Regions from separate parts of the Homo sapiens genome. Here regions 2 and 3 are each linked to region 1. Evidence: promoter capture Hi-C in human tissues and cell types (Jung and others, 2019). All regions are on one chromosome and are shown on one strand. The core of a region is centred on a gene start or on the middle of the fragment in contact, and the rest is flanking DNA. Distances in the headings are between cores, read along the strand shown. Region 1 holds the start of C22orf15 (chromosome 22 open reading frame 15). Region 2 has its middle 17 kb from the start of RGL4. Region 3 holds the start of RGL4 (ral guanine nucleotide dissociation stimulator like 4).

What was found. Contacts are between HindIII fragments. The study calls those that stand out against the background at their distance.
Region 2: a contact is called between a fragment that was not itself captured here and the fragment with the promoter of C22orf15 in region 1, in 2 of the 25 tissues and cell types used here (mesenchymal stem cells and thymus).
Region 3: a contact is called between the fragment with the promoter of RGL4 here and the fragment with the promoter of C22orf15 in region 1, in 1 of the 25 tissues and cell types used here (mesendoderm cells).

Annotation. Positions count from the first base shown.
Region 1 is chr22:23,761,716-23,764,276 of GRCh38, forward strand. C22orf15 (chromosome 22 open reading frame 15) reads left to right here and starts at 1,275. Exons shown (of 6, transcript NM_182520.3): 1 at 1,275-1,616; 2 at 2,372-2,458; 3 at 2,545-2,561. The coding sequence starts at 1,592. The HindIII fragment of the contact is 4,822 bases long and covers 1-1,620 here.
Region 2 is chr22:23,672,991-23,675,551 of GRCh38, forward strand. It overlaps the pseudogene GUSBP11. Among named protein-coding and RNA genes, the nearest start is that of RGL4, 17 kb to the right of the region's middle. RefSeq lists an enhancer at 929-1,533. The HindIII fragment of the contact is 4,614 bases long and covers 1-2,561 here.
Region 3 is chr22:23,689,730-23,692,290 of GRCh38, forward strand. It overlaps RGL4 (ral guanine nucleotide dissociation stimulator like 4), which reads left to right and starts at 1,284. Exons shown (of 11, transcript NM_153615.2): 1 at 1,284-2,480. The coding sequence starts at 2,302. It also overlaps the pseudogene GUSBP11. The HindIII fragment of the contact is 14,351 bases long and covers 1-2,561 here.

The sequences.
Region 1 (2,561 bases), core at 25-2,524:
ACAAAAAATTAGCCAGGGGTGGTGGCTGGCGCCTGTAATACCAGCTACTCCGGAGGCTGAGGCAGGAGAATCGCTTGAACCCGAGAGGCGGAGGTTGCAGTGAGCCGAGATTGCGCCACTGCACTGCAGCATGGCTGACAGAGCGAGACTCATTCTCAAAAAAAAATAAATAGGTCAGGCTTGGTGGCTCAGCACTTTGGGAGGCCAAGATGGGCGGATCATTTGAGGTCAGGAGTTCGAGACCAATCTGACCAATATGGTGAAACTCCATCTCTATTAAAAATACAAAAAAAGGCCGGGCGCAGTGGCTCACGCCTGTAATCCTGTAATCCCAGCACTTTGGGAGGCCGAGGCGGGCAGATCACGAGGTCAGGAGATTGAGACCGTCCTGGCTAACATGGTGAAACCCCGTCTGTACTAAAAATACAAAAAAAATTAGCTGGGCGTGGTGGCGAGCGACTGTAGTCCCAGCTACTCAGGAGGCTGAGGCAGGAGAAAGGCGTGAACCCGGGAGGCGGAGCTTGCAGTGAGCCGAGGTCACACCACTGCACTCCAGCCTGGGCGAGGGAGCGAGACTCCGTCTCAAAAAAAAAAAAAAAAAAAAAAAAAACTAGCCAGGTGTAGTGGTGCACACCTGTAGTCCCAGTTACTTGGGAGGCTGAGGCAGGAGAATCGCTTGAACTCGGGAGGCGGAGGTTGCAGTGAGCCGAGATCGTACCACTGCATTCTAGCCTGGGTGACAGGGAGACTCCATCTCAAAAAATAAAAATTTAAAAAACACCAATAATAATAATAATTAATAAACTTAATAAATAAATAAATAAAAGACAGGAAATGACGGTGAGAACCGGTGTGAGGGACTAGCTAGTGGCCAGTGCTAACAAGGAGGTGCTTGTGACCTGCTATGGACCTGGAAGCGACTAGGGCTGAGTACAAAGGGGGCAAAGGAATTTGGGGGTGATGGAAATGTTCTGTATCTTGACTGTGGTGGTGGTTATATGAGAGTTGGCATAACTTTAAAACACCAGAAAGGGTGAACTTTACTGTACAAGTGGTTCACAACTGCAATCCCAGCACTTGTGGGAGGCTGGGGCTGGAGAATTGCTTGAGCCAAGTTCGAGACCAGCCTGGGCAACATAGGGAGACTGTCTCTAAAAAAAATCAATCCCAATGATGGCATTCCCCGCCTCAGGGAATGCCAGCCCCCACTTCTTCTGTCACCTCTCCCCCATGGGCCCCGTTAACGGATACAGGGAGGAAGGCATTTCCTGCCTAGATGTCTCCGCCCCCACTGCCATGGAGACCAGCTTGGAAGCTTAGGGGAGCTGCTGTGGCCCAGGGCTCAGTGGGGAGGAAGAGGAGGCCAGGAGTCTTGGACTAGCTGCAGGGTTTGAGCTAGGCTGAAGCAGCAGAACCACAGAGGTGGCTGAGCAGGGGCCTGGCCCTGGGACCCAGCCATCCACACTCACACATCCACTTCTCCCTCCAGAGCCCGGCCCTGAAGCAGGTCTCTGCTCCACGCTTTTCCTTAGTTGGGGAATCGAGAGTTGGGGGATCAAAGCCCCCCACATCTCCCTCACCCGCTGCAGCTATGTTTATCAAGGTGATGTTTGGGGGTAAGTGGGGTCCCCTGTCTTGGTAGGCGGATAGGGGGATGAGCACACTCAGAGGCGTGCTTCCTTCCGCCCTTGCGGTGGGTGGGGAGGCAATGGCGGGAAAGGGGGGTGGTGCACATGGCGGGGGTCGTCGGGGAAGCGGCTCTGTGAGGAGGCGAAGCCAGCACCTGGAGCGAGTCCCTTAAAGGGAAAACCCGAGCTGAGTCCTGCTCATTCACAAGGGTTCCTCTCGGCCAGAGACCGCCGCATTACCCTGGAGCAGGTTTTTAAGCCGCACAATCTCTTCGCCATTCAATCCGTGATCCTCAAGCTTCAGCGTGCATCAGACACCTGAAACTCTAGCCACAGTTGCAGGGTCCCCGTGCCTCTGGCTGGAGGCGGGTCGGCCCTGTGCGGTAGCGGAAGGGAAGAGAGGAGCCGGTGGGTGCGGAGGGCGGGGACTGGCTGGGTCCCGTGGGGGCGGGTCCCGGGAGGAGGCTGGGCTGGCGCCCACTTCGTGCTTTGCAGGACTCAAGAGACCAACACTTGGGAGTCACCACACATGGGAGAAAAGTCACCACACATGGGAGATGGATGGAGGGTTCTCCAAGGCAGTTTAAGCAACAGATGTTGGAGCTGTTATGCCCGGGGCACAGTCTTAGCCCATAGGCCCAGTCGCAGCTCTGGGAAAGGGAGAGATGGGAGGGAGAGACAGAGGACCCCGATTTGGAGGAAGGTAAGAGATCTCACAGGCTCACCTTTGCCCCTCTCCACAGCTGGCTGCTCGGTGCTGGTGAACACCTCTTGCAGGCTGGTGAACCTCACCGCCCACCTGAGGCAGAAAGCAGGGTTGCCCCCAGATGGTGAGGAGACAGGGAGGAGAAGGAGGGGCTGAGGGGTCCCAGGCAGGGGTGCCAGCCCTGCCCAGTCTCTCTCCATGTCCTCCCAGCGACCATTGCTCTCCTG
Region 2 (2,561 bases), core at 46-2,545, 89 kb before region 1:
AGAGCACAGCCCCAACCCCATTCACAGGCAGGAAACTGAAGCTTAGACAAAAGGGATTTACCGAGGTCAGCTGGCCCCAGGAGGTCTGCAGACCTGTAGGTAAGCCCAGGACCCACCCATCCCTTACCCTGCCAGCCCCCAGCCTGGAGTCACTATCCCTGGGTACGAGAACGCACAGATCTCTGTGGCTTCTCCAGGCCTGTCTACATCCCTGGACTGGACGCTTACTACCCAGACCTGGAGTTGGAATCCATCTTCCACGCTGTCTACCCATGCGGTGCAGTGTTGAGAATTAGAAAAAACACCCCTTCAGTAAGATTTAATAACCACTACCTGCTGGAAACCTGTTGAAAGAACTATATATATATCCCCATATATATAGCTGAGAGGTGGCAGGCACCCCCTGGAGTTGGGCAATGACCCCTTGCACAAATGGCCCTGCCCCACCCCAATCCACAGCCACAAACAGAACCCAGGAGTGAGGCAAGCATGGCCCAAGGACACAGGGTCCCCCAACCCCATCACAGCTCTGGCTCTACTCCAGAGCTGACCCCCCGCCCCCATTCAGGGCTGCCAGATCCTCCTGGGTCTGTTTCTTCATGCTGCACTCTCCCCTCCTTTTTTTTTTTTGAGACAGAGTCTCACTCTGTTGCCCAGGCTGGAGTGTAGTGACACGATCTCGGCTCACTGCAACATCTACCTCCCGGGTTCAGGTGATTCTCCCACCTCAGCCTCCCGAGTAGCTCAGATTACAGGCACGCACCACCACGCCCAGCTAATTTTTCTATTTTTAGTAGAGAGGAGGTTTCACCATGTTGGCCAGGATGGTCTCGATCTCTTGACCTCGTGATCCGCCCGCCTTGGCCTCTCAAAGTGCTGGGATTACACGCATGACCACTGCGTCTGGCCCACTCTTCCCTCTCAATTCCAAGAAGCCACGGCTCTCTCAAGGGCTTCTTCGAATAAGTCAGGTGACTCTGCCCCAGCCCTCCCTCACCCACCGGCATACCTCTCTCAAACCCACTTAGCCAAGAAACAGAGGCGCCCCCTAGCCCAGACGCAGTTGGATAGAGAACCCAGGGCTCTCCCCTTCTGTGGGATCCCTCTGCAGGATGTGCCCACGTGAGTTTCCCCCTTCACCCCGAAGTGCAACTCACTCCCACTGCACAGGTGCATAAACCGAGGCTCGGAGAGGAAGAGGAACTCCTCTAGAGCACAGCAAGCATACGGCAGAGCTGAGAATGGAACTCAGGCCTCCAGACACTCCTGGGAGTCCCCTGGCCTGAGCTTCCCCACTTATGATGTCCAGCATCTCAGAGAGAGTGAGTGGCTCCTCCGGGTCACACAGCGCTGGGCCACAGCCAGCTGCCCTCACTCACTGGCTCACCAGACTCTGGATCTGGTCGTCCAGCAGCACACTAAAACCAAGCTAAGATTCCCCGCTGTGACCCAGCTCCTCTCCTCCCCGCCTCCCCAGGCAGCATGGGGGCGGGCAGTGCGGTGCGGGGGAGGCATTAAAGGCACAAGAACTGCTGCAGGTGGGACAATGGCTGGCTGCTGGTCCCATCCCTGGGGCTGTGTGATCTGGGACCGCTGCAGGTCTGAGTCCGGTGGGGTCTCAAACCCTGAATGAGAGACCTGAACTCTGAAAGCCTCGGTGGGGCTGAATGAGGCTGGGTTTCAGTGGGAGGCAGATTAGACCAAAGGTTCCCTGGGAGATGGGGCCACAGAGCTGGGCTGCAGCCAGATGCCCACGCCAGGAGGGGCTGGAGATGTAAGCATCTGAGGCCCCACAAGGTCTGAGGAGCCTAGATCACCTCTACAACCCCAGGGCAGGGGATGCCTCTCCTAACAGGCCCTCTCCCCAGCTTGCAGGGCTACAGGTGGGGCTCTAGGAGCTGTCACTCCAAGGACCCTGGTCACCTGGACTGAAGGGAGTCACATGATCCAGGAGGGTCCTTCCTCAACCCCCAATTTCAAGGGTCTGAGCAGACAGGCTGACAGAGGACCCCAGACAGTGGGAGCAGGGGGATGAGGCCCATCCATCCATCACGCCCTCACCTGCTCTGCCCCATTCAATGAGATGGGGTGGGTGCCCCCACAGCACTGGCAGGCCCAAGCCTCTCAGCCCTCAGATCGAGGTCCACACATGGTCTGCAGCCTGCCAGTATTGTCACTCTTAGCAAGGTGCATACTTACCTTCCTTCTTTCATTCCATCATTCATTCTCTCATCAAATCCTGGCCCCTCCAGATTCTTCTCTCAAGGAGCCCTGACCTGGCTGGGCATGAGACAGTATGGTCACCCCAGGGGGAAGAGCCCTACGGAAGGGGCAGACACCAGAATAGGGCCCTTGGGAATCCAGCCGGAGGTGGGATTGGATTTGGGGAGGACCTGACAGGCAGAAGGAACCACCTGAGCCTGAAGGCCAGGAAATGGAGCCTTTTCCAGGAAGTGAGGGCTGCAGGGGACCTCTTGACCACCCTAGGCCCGTCCTGAGCCCCGAGGTGTCAAAGCTGGAAAAGGAGGTGGCCGAGCTAAGACCTTCAAGGCCAGGCCAGT
Region 3 (2,561 bases), core at 34-2,533, 72 kb before region 1:
ACAGGGTCTTCTCTTGAACTTCTCTGTGCGCTGACCCCCTCTCCTTGTAAGAACCCCAGGCATGTTAAATTAGGGGCCACCCTAATGAACTCACTTCACCTGAATTACCTCTTGGAGTACTCTGTGTCCAGACACAGTCACATTCTGAGTCTCTGGGGTTGAGAATAGAAACAGTTACATTTGGGGAAGGGGACACAATTCAACCCATAAAATAAACAAATCCCCTGCAGCAGACAGACACCCAGGAAAGGGATATCTGGGTGAAAGGATATGCAGATATCAACTTTCAACAGCTCTAGCTAGTTGACTTTCCAAAAGGGCTCCAGCTGGTCACACGGTCACCAGCAGCCTCTGAAGGTAGCTGCTTCTCTGAACGCAGCCTCCCCTGAATACTAACACGCTTTTAACTTTTCGCCAACCTGCTGTCTGTGTGGCAGAGAAAATCCTTGTTTCATTTCCACTTTCAAACATACATTTGCGTAACCTTTCACGGGTTCAATACCTGCCTGCGTTTTCCCCAAGTCGCCTCGCAGATCCTGGGCCTTGGGACGCGCTTCCTCCCACCCTGGAGTCTTCCGGCATTTTCCCCTTGGCCAGGGCTGGGATGGCCGTAGCTGTTTCTCCAGACTCACGTTCATGTTAAAGGAACAAAAACAATCATATACCTTTAAGTCAAAGAGTTCTTCTAGAGCGTATTGTCCTGTGTGCTGTTGCTGAAATGAGGAGGGGATGAGGCCTCCCCAGGCCTTGAGGACTTGCAGGGATGATGCTCTTCATGCAGGTTGCTGACACAGAGGGTGCTGTTGCCCCACAGCTGACAAACACCGGGACGATGCCTTGAAGGCAGGAATCGTTTTATCATTCTCCATCCTCACATGCAATGTTACTTTGAAAGCCTAGAACGCTTTTCACCATGGGCACCCAGGTTCTCCATATGCACAAGTCCCTGAAGGGTTGGTGCTTCTTGGTGTGAGTTCCAGATCCCGATCCTCTGGTGGTCCATGGTGTTACCACTGACTCCCATGTCCCTCCTTGTCCCCCTAGTATGAAAATGAGATCTGCAGGATGCTAACTTTCCAGCCCGGCACTGGGGAGAAGCTGTTGGGAGTCCCTGGTTCCAGCCTTTCTAACTAAACCCATCTCCTCCTATGCCACCTGCCTGGGCCCCTCCTGGGACTTTATCACTGTGCCACACTTTTTGGAACTACTGGTTAGAAGGTGAGTGTCCATCCCCCTCCAAGACACAGAGGTGCCTCTGTCCCCTACTGGCTCTGTCTTGAAGATGCACCTCTCGGAGCCTCGGTTGGCTCCTCTGGAACAGGGAGTAGTGAGAAGACGAACCTCACAGGGTTCTTGTAGGGACTCAATGATCTAAGACACAGCAAACAAAGGGGTCCCTAGAGCCTAAAACTCTGGAAAATCTGCTGGGGGTGCTGTGATTCATGTTTGTTACTTTTCTCTTCCCCCTCACTTGAAGCAGCTCTCAGCATTCTGCCTCAATGGCCTGTATCACTCACTGTTTGGAAAAACACATAGAAACCAAGTCTGCGATGGCACTGGTAAAGGATGTCTGAGATTCCTTCTGGCTGGTCTTTCTCCTTGACACAGACAGAAGAGGGGTCCCTTGGTGCTGAAAAAGGAGCCACAGGCCCACTCAGACATCTGGAGAGGCTCACTGGGGTTCTCCAAAGGTTGGGGTTCACTCATTCAACACATACATTCAAAACACCTCATTTGTGCATCGCTCTTCTTGGGGCTTGGCATAATTTCATAAACAAAGCAGATGACAATCCCCCGGCCTTGATTCTACTCAGAGTCAGGCACTCACAGTAGACAGAATAAACAAGTCATATCTACAGAATGTTACAGGTGAGACCCTCATGGCCTCCTCTACGTATGGTGGCATCCTCCCAGATTCTGACTAGAATGACGCAGCCCAGCAACAAATATAAACTGGGTGGATTTAGGGTTCTGAAGGGCCTTTTCACCCACAAAACATGGGGGAAAATATGTGGACTCTGGCTGGGGAGAGACTAAAGGAGCTCTGGGGCTCATACTTCTTATAATTCCCACGAGAAGGCTGACATCTGGGGACTTCCCCCACAAGAGGCAAATAGTGAGTTCTGTAAATGGAGACTTAGGTCCCCTGCAAAGCAGAGGGGAGGCTGGGGTCACAGCTGGCCACTGAGAGACCCATCCCCCTCAGCACCGTGGCTTCCCAGCTCTCCCTGTCCTCCTCCCCCCGACATCTGCCCCTTCCCTCCTAACCCCAGGACCAGGGGACCCAGATCTGGAGCTTTGATGAGGAAGCTGCTCACAAATCTGCCTGCAGCTGCAGTCTTGAGTGCCCAGGTGTACAGTGCTGTGCTCCAGGGCCTTTGGGAAGAGAATGTCTGTGGGACGCCAGGGCGCACGAGGGTCTGTACAGCCCTGCTGTATGGCCAGGTCTGCCCCTTCCAGGACAGCACTGATGGCTTACGGTAGGGTGGGGCTGTCCTCCACACTGGCAGCAACAGGCCAGGGACCCAGAACCACGCAGGGGTGCCCTGGAGGGTTGTGTG